2 separate regions of the Homo sapiens genome follow, and region 1 is linked to region 2. The links are contacts of gene promoters, found by promoter capture Hi-C in blood cells and fetal thymus (Javierre and others, 2016). All regions are on one chromosome and are shown on one strand. Each heading gives the region's core, a stretch centred on a gene start or on the middle of the fragment in contact. The rest is flanking DNA. Distances are from core to core; before and after follow the strand shown. Region 1 holds the start of MPHOSPH9 (M-phase phosphoprotein 9). Region 2 holds the start of MLXIP (MLX interacting protein).

Region 1 (3,589 bases), core at 377-2,876, 1.2 Mb before region 2:
TTTGGAATTATGTAATATAATTTAAAAAATCATGAAAGATAGGATAACATCAAATTTACCCTTTGAAAATTGCCAGGCGTGGTGGCTCATGCCTGTAATCCCAGCACTTTGGGTGGCCGAGGCAGGAGGATGACCTGAGGTCAGGAATTCGAGACCAGCCTGGCCAATATGGCAAAACCCCGTCTCTACTAAAAATACAAAAAATTAGCCGGATGTGGTGGCGGGCACCGGTATTCCCGGCTACTCGGGAGGCTGAAGCAGAAGAATCACTTGAACCCGGGAGGCAGAGGTTAAAGTGAGCCGAGATCGCGCCACTGCCCTCCAGCCTGGGTGACAGAGAGAGACCTTGTCCCCCCTACCCCCCTCCCCCACAAAAATAAAAAAAGTAAAAAAAAATTGGTAGGTATACTTAGGAAGCTCCAATGAGATGTAACGCCTCCTGGCAGATCTGTTATTCCAAGGGCAGATCCATTTCCTGGGTTGTGGAGGCCTAAGTGATAGTGCCAGGGAAGTCCCTTTACTGTGAGCCAGAACTCCTGGAGGTAAATCGAGTAGCTGGAAAGACCTTAAAGGTTAACTATGCTGAAGAATGTGGCCTGCACAGTGCGCATGAAATGGGCTGGGGTCCCACGGGGAGGAGAGCGAGTTCCCTTTGGTCCTTCAAAAGTAGGGCTGGGTGGCTTGCGCCTGTGATCCCAGCACTTTGGGAGGCCGAGGAAGGAGGATCGCTTGAGGCCAGGAGTTCGAGATCAGCTTGGGCAACACAGTGAGACCCCCCCACCCCACGTCTATTAAAAAAAAAACGAGTATCTCCGCAAAAGCCTAGCAAGGGCAGTGCTGACCTCTACTACGTGCCAGGCCTGAAACAGCACCTGATGCGTGCTCACAGCTCCATTCCGCTCAGTTTTGTACATGAGGATCCTTCCGTTTCGCCTTGGGCCTCCGTGGAACCGTTATCTCCAGGACGGTAGTCTCTCCTCTCCCCTGCCCTGAGTGCCTGAACAGCCCCAGGGCCGACCCACAGCACCTAGCGTAAACCAGGTCCCGAGAAAACTGAGCTCGGGTGTCACGGCCGGCCCCACCCCACCGCCAGCGCGGCCTCAGGTAAACTGGCTGCGCCACTCGGGGTCGCAAGTCGGGAAAAACCCAGGCGTCCCGGCTCGCAGTCCTCTCTCCGGAGCCTTTGACAGTCGTCGGCAGCCGTAGGGTTACCTGGCTTCTCCGCAGATGCTTACCTGGTCTCAGGACCCGACTCGTGCCCTCAACGTTCTAGGGATATCCAAATCACCTCAGCGGAGGATTCGCAATCGCGATCCCTGATCTGCGCACGCGCCGTACTCCGATCGCGGTTTCTCTTATCTACCAGAGGCTCATGTTTACTCACTGCGCATGCGAGAAACTGAAGCTTCTTTCCCTCGTGGCAGCGGCTGGCTCCCAGAGAGCCAATCAGAGAAGAGAGTTTCACAGCAATCCCGCCCCCTTGTCACTCCCCCGGGGTTGGATGTCTCTCTTTGGTTGGAGCTGCGCGAGGGGGAACGGCGAGGTGGACGCGCGCGCCATGCGAGGCTGTCTCCGCCTCCTTCCGGGCAGCCAATCACTGGAGAGACGCCGGGCGCGCGCGCGCTCCCTCGGGTAACGGTCGCGAGAGGCCGCTTGCATGACCCTGACATCGGCAGCGGGAGCGGCGGCCAGGTAAGCGGCCACCAGCCTGCAGGGAGCTGTAGGCCGCTGGGGACAGGAGACGAGACTTAGGAGACACTGTCTTAGCGGCCCCTTGAGTGTGGTGATGGGCTGGGGTGTGGGGTGACGGCTGCCGATTGGCCTGACCCCCTCGGAGCCCTTCGGCGTGTGGGAGCTCTGCCCGGCCGCGGTGCGCCTTTTCTAGACTCGGCGCCCTTGAGTGACACTCGCGCGGCCCAATCGCAGATCGCTCTTCCTGAGGGGCGGGGGGTTTGTGGGGTTTTTTTAATTTTTCCCCCCATTTTTTGCCAAGGTGCCCCGGTTTCCTTTTGGAATCGCGGTTGTAGTTGCAGGAGCGGTGGCTTTTCTCCGTCCTCCCTGCTTTCCGTAGCTTAGGCGACTGCATAGATTCTCCCTCTCCTTCCCACTTTGACCCGATAGCCGCCACCAGCCATTGCGGGCTGACTGTGAGCTCAGAATGTCGGGATCTGGCCTCATCCCCATCTGAAATCTCTTCCTCTCCCCCAAGCCTCCCGTCAAGGCGGAGCGCCCAGTTAACTTTCATGTTTCATAACCATCAATCGTTCCTTTTCCCCAGCTCCCTTTTTTTGCTAGGGGGTAGGGACACCAAAAGCGTCATATCTTGTTGCTGGGAAATATAAAAGCTCTGCTCTTATATTCATTCTGTATCAAGTTAAAAAAATTTTTTTTTGCATTGTATTTGTGGGTGTTTAAGGATTTTTCCCTCTTACTTCCCTGCCCTCCCCCCAGCACCTCCACCCCAAATGGAGAAGCATCTTTGAATTTCTAGTGGTTTTCCATCTGGATCTGCATCCGGATCCGGATTACCTTAGCAGGGGAAATAATAGATGGGGTTGCAGGTTCATCTCCCTGGAGAGCTTGTGTTTTCCTGGTGTAATAGCATGGTGATTGGAATCCAGGTATTTCTGTTGCCAGTTGGAAGGGGCAGTCCTTGACTGTTTCAATGCCCCATTTGTCGTGGGTGATGGGCTGAGCCACTGGGGAAAAGTCCATTTAGTTAGGTCCGGTTACCCTTTGCATTCACTCCTGTCCCTGAAGGAAATGGTCCCTGTTTTTGTGTAATGCTTTATAAAAGCAGGCCCTAGAAAGTGGGAATCTAGCAGAAGCGGAATACTAGATAATATTCCTGTTGCACTCTCTAAGCTTTTCAGTTTGTAAGCAGCTGAAGTTTTCTTTCTTTCTCCTTTTTCCTCTTGCTCCCTTGCTCTTTTATAAGTGCATGAATTCCCCAGGAAGGAGGCATCTTGTTTGACCTGTTACAGCCAATTTGCCATGGTATATATCCAGCTTCACTGAAATTTTAGTTGGCCTGGCAAATAATTTTTTTATTTTTATTTTTATTTTTTAAGAGATGGGGTCTTGGTCTGTTGCCCAAGCTGGAGTGCAGTGGCAGGATCATAGCTCACTGCAGTCTTGAACTCCTGGGCTGAAGTGATCCTCCCACCTCAGCCTCCAGAGTAGCTGGGACATGCTCCCAGTAGCTGCAGGCAGGCTCCAGTGTGCCCAGTGGTTTATTTTCTAAGAATAGCTGCACAGAGACAAAAGACCATATATATAGTTCAAAATGTACTTCCAGACAATGGGGAAGCTATGGTTGTTAACAGTTTAATTGGCTCTTTTTAATACAAATTAAATATTAAGTAGTTCAGTTCTTCTTGTCTCTGTATAAGTCAACAAACATATATACTTGGTAGAATTTATTAAACAAATGAACAAGGCATGCAAGTATTCCAATTGTTACATAATAGAATTATATCTAGAACTTTCATTGTAAAGCCTGGCAAAATGGTTTGCGCTATAATCCCAGCTGCTCGGGAGGCTGAGCACTTGAGGCCAGGAGTTGTAGACCAGCCTGGGCAACATAGCA
Region 2 (3,978 bases), core at 232-2,731:
GCAGGGCCAAGCTGCTCAAGGCCGCTGCTGCCAGTCCAAAGAAGTTCTGTTGCGCAGACAAAAAAGTTACCTGCAGCAAATACCTAATATTCATAGTGGGAAAGGGAGAGAGAGTGAAAAAGCGCTTTAATCTTTGAGGGCCAGGCATTTTCTGTGACTTGGAAAAGAGGAATCTCTGCCCAGAGCCGAATCCACATGTCAGAACGGTGTCTGGGATGTCTGCCCTCAACAATGACATCTCCCTCATATAATGTTTCAGGACCGGCCAGAAAACCCTCCAACTTGCCAGAAGGACAGACTGCACCTCCAACAGCTGTGGCACCAAAAGTCTTCTTAGGAGGCACCCAAAGCCCTCCCGAGATGGGGGCGGGCCTCCCGATGAGGTTGTAAGGGGGCCAGCCTCCAGGTGCAGGGACACCTAACTCTGGCCAAGCACTGGAATAAGCAATTTACCTATCTCACTCCATCCCCACAACAGCCCCTTGGAGGCAGACACTACAGTCATTCCCCTTTTATAAAGGAGGAAACAGGCTCCGAGGTGTTACACAACCATTAAACAGCAGAGCCAGCCTCCAGTCACCCCGAACAGGTGGTCCTGACCGCTGCTGGATATGGGGGAAACACACAAAGCGTTTGGAGGAAGGAGTCGATAGAGTCGGGTAACACAAGATGCAGCCAGTGTTTATACCTCTTCCTCGTCCAACATCGGTGGTCCCAGGACACTGGAGGGGAGGGCCTGGATGGGGAACGTGAACCCGAAAGGACCCCGGCACTGCTGGCAGGGGAAGAGGCCAGGACCCCGGCTCCTCTGGCAACGCGGGGAACCCCAGATCCATAAACCCTCCCGAAGGAGGAAGACCCAAAGGGAATGCATGAAGCCACGGGGTTGCCAGGCGGCCCTTCCCTCCACGCTTGTTTTGTCAAACAAGGGCCTCCGGCCGGGGCCTCAGGGGGTCGCGGGGGTCCCTACCTGTAGGCCAAAGTCATGCACTCGAAGAGCTTGGTGAGCGAGGCGTCGATGGACAGGTGGCAGGAGCTAGTCTTGCCGAAGCTGTAGGTCTGGCACGTCTGTTTGTTGACCGTGTCGAAATCGTAGCCCTTCTTGGGCGGGTGCTCTCGGTGCGGCGACGACACCATGAAGTGGCCGCTGTGGATGATCTGCTGGCGGCGCGGAGGTTCCTCGCGGCCCGGCCCGGCCCGAGGCGGCGGTGGCGCGGCGCTCGCGTGGGCCCGGGCCGGGGTGGCCGCGCCGGAGGCGGGCGGCGGGGACGGCTCATCCGTGTCCGAGTCGTCGTCGTCCTCGGACACCTGGGGCTTGAGCAGCACCTGGCGGCCCCGGCTGCGAGGCCGGCGCGGGGAGCACATGAAGACGTCGGCGGCCATGAGAAGGGCTCGGCCGGGGGCATCCCCCGGAGCCCGGGGCAACGCGACAAGCGCGCGAGGCAGAGGGGCGCCGGCCCGGCCCGGCCCGCGCGCCGACTGTCCGCGAGCGCGCGGCGCGGCGGGAGGGGGAGGGCTCCGGCCCCGGCGTGACGTCACCGAGGCGTCTGGGCCAATCGGCTGCCCGCGTCGGCCTCTTAAAGGCGCAGGGGAACCTTTCCTTAGCTAGGCGGACCAAAAAAAAAAAAAAAGGGGAAGCGGAGGCCACGCCTCCCGGCCGTGCCCCTCGCCACCTCCTCCTCTCCCGGCGTCCGTGGGTGCTGAGGGACACGGTGGCCGGGCGGAGCGGCTCGCCGGTGTCGCGACCTGGGAGAGGCGTCGGCAGAGTGGGGCCGTGCTAGTCCCGCCCCCGCCCCGCTCCGCGCCCCGGGAGTCGCCCTGTGGCTTCGCCGCAGGCCCGGCCGGCTCCACGTGGTGGGTGCGGGTGGGGCTCCTCGGCCTCCAGGCCCTGCTTTTTCCCTGCCGGGCGGTACCGAGTCCTCGCAGCTCACGCCTGAGTTTGCCGGACGTGGTGGCTATTGTCCTCATTATTCTCATCGTATTGATGGGAACACTGGGTGGCTGAATACCGACAGGATTTTTCTCAGACCTGGAGTCCACAGAGCTGGGAACTTGCTTCCCCTGCGCGTCCCCAGCTCGGCGCAGCTGTTGAGTGGCAGCGCCCCTGAGCCCAGCGACCTCCAGACCCCAGCTCTTTTAACTTCAACTCAGCATGCTGTTGTTATTTTTTTAAAGTTTGACGGACGAGCCAGCCCCCGAAACAATTCTAAAAGGGGAGTATCTGAGCCAGAGTTTTCTTCTCTGTCAAATGGTGAACAATTCCGTTTCCTCAGAAACTTGGGACAGTTTAAAAATGGCTATAGTGGGGCGCGGTGGCTCATGCCTGTAATCCTAGCACTTTTGGAGGCCGAGGCGGGTGGATCACTTGAGGCCAGAAGTTCAAGACCAGCCAGGCCAACACGGTGAAACCCTGTCTCTACTAAAAATAACAAAAATTAGCCGGTCGTAGTGGTGCACCCCTGTAATCCCAGCTACTCGGGAGGCTGAGGCAGGAGAATCGCTTGAATCCGGGAGGTGGAGGTTGCAGTGAGCCGAGATTGCGCCATTGCACTCTAGCCTGGGCGACAGAGCGAGGCCCTGTCTCAAAAAGAAAAATAAATACAAATAAAAATGGCTATAAGTTGCTTAGCAGGCAGGCTGGCACAAAATGAGCGCTAAATAAATGTGCCACAGGTTGGAGGATTTGGATCAACCAGACCAGAGGTGCCTAGAAATTGCCAATAGTCCACCACTATTTGACCTGCAGAAACGGCAACTTCGCGTGGCACAACCTAACTGACAGACACCTCTAGAAAGCTGTCAAGGTTTCCGGGGCTCAAAGCCAGTCTGGGGTGGGGGTGGCAGGGCATCAGAAGAGCCAGTGAGGCCCATGAGCCAGGAACACCCATCCTAATCCTAGCAGGGCGTCCAGAGTCCACAGCCACTCCTGCACTCTGCTTTGTTTTATTGTTGTTTTGTTTTTTGAGACAGAGTCTTGCTCTGTCACCCAAGGCTGTAGCGCAGTGGTGCAATCACCATGTTGGCCAGGCCGGTCTGGAACTCCTGACCTCAAGTGAGGCCTGCCTTGGACTCCCAAAGTGCTGGGATGACAGGCATGAGCCACCGCGCTGGCTCTGCACTCGGCTTTGAAGCTGGTTTCAGTTCCAGATTTGAGTGGGGGGTGAGTCCCCTGCCCCACCCTCTTCCTGACAAAGGCCTCCTGAAGGGAACAGAGGGCTCTCACCAAAATGGCTCCATTAACTTATTTCCAAATGTCTGTATGGAAAAATGGGCTGGATGACTGGCAGTTTTCAGGCATGAGTTCTAGATTTCCCTCTTCAACCTACTACTGTTCCCAATGCTGGTTACAAGTGTTTAAAAGTCCATCCTTTGAGTTGCCTTCCTTTCTCTCAAGACTTGTCTCCTTGGTCCTTGGTAAGTTTACATGCCCAGCCACTTTTTTTTTTTTTTTTTTTTGAGACAGGATCTGGCTCTTTCACCTGGACTGGAGTGGAGTGGTGCCATCATGGCTCACAGCACCCTCAACCTCCAGGGCTCAGGTGATCCTCCCACCTCAACTTCCCAAGTAGCAGGACCACAGGTGCACACCACCGTGCCCTGCTAATTTTTGTACTTTTTATAGAGATGGGGTCTCGCCATGCTGCCCAGCCTGGTCTCGTCTCGAGTTCCTGACCTCAAGTGATCCTCCTGCCTCAGCCTCCCAAGGTGCTAGAATTACAGGTGTGAGCCACCATGCCCTGCTTTTTTGTCTTTGTGTTTACCTATATTTTCTTTCTTTTTTTTTTTTTTTGAGACAGGGTCTCACTGTGTCACATTGGTGTGATCGTGGCTCACTGTAGCCTCAACCTCCCCTGCCCAAGCTATCCTCCCACCTCAGTCTCCCGAGTAGCTGTGACCACAGGTGGGCACCACCACACCCAGCTAATGTTTAATTTTTTTGTAGAGATGGAATTTCCCTATGTTGCCCAGGCTGGTCTC

Evidence for each region. The method cuts DNA at HindIII sites, captures the fragments that hold promoters and counts their contacts. A CHiCAGO score of 5 or more calls a contact.
Region 1: the fragment with the promoter of MPHOSPH9 here is called in contact with the fragment with the promoter of MLXIP in region 2 in 1 of 17 cell types (erythroblasts); the score reaches 5.2 in erythroblasts.

What each region holds. Positions count from the first base shown.
Region 1 is chr12:123,231,178-123,234,766 of GRCh38, reverse strand. It overlaps MPHOSPH9 (M-phase phosphoprotein 9), which reads left to right and starts at 1,626. Exons shown (of 24, transcript NM_022782.4): 1 at 1,626-1,692. It overlaps MTRFR (mitochondrial translation release factor in rescue), which reads right to left and starts at 1,331. Exons shown (of 3, transcript NM_152269.5): 1 at 1,236-1,331. RefSeq lists an enhancer at 1,614-1,853. The HindIII fragment of the contact is 1,460 bases long and covers 1,408-2,867 here.
Region 2 is chr12:122,076,259-122,080,236 of GRCh38, reverse strand. MLXIP (MLX interacting protein) reads right to left here and starts at 1,481. Exons shown (of 17, transcript NM_014938.6): 1 at 971-1,481. The coding sequence starts at 1,383. RefSeq lists enhancers at 899-1,138, 3,206-3,255 and silencers at 1,199-1,648, 1,659-1,938. The HindIII fragment of the contact is 7,442 bases long and covers 1-3,978 here.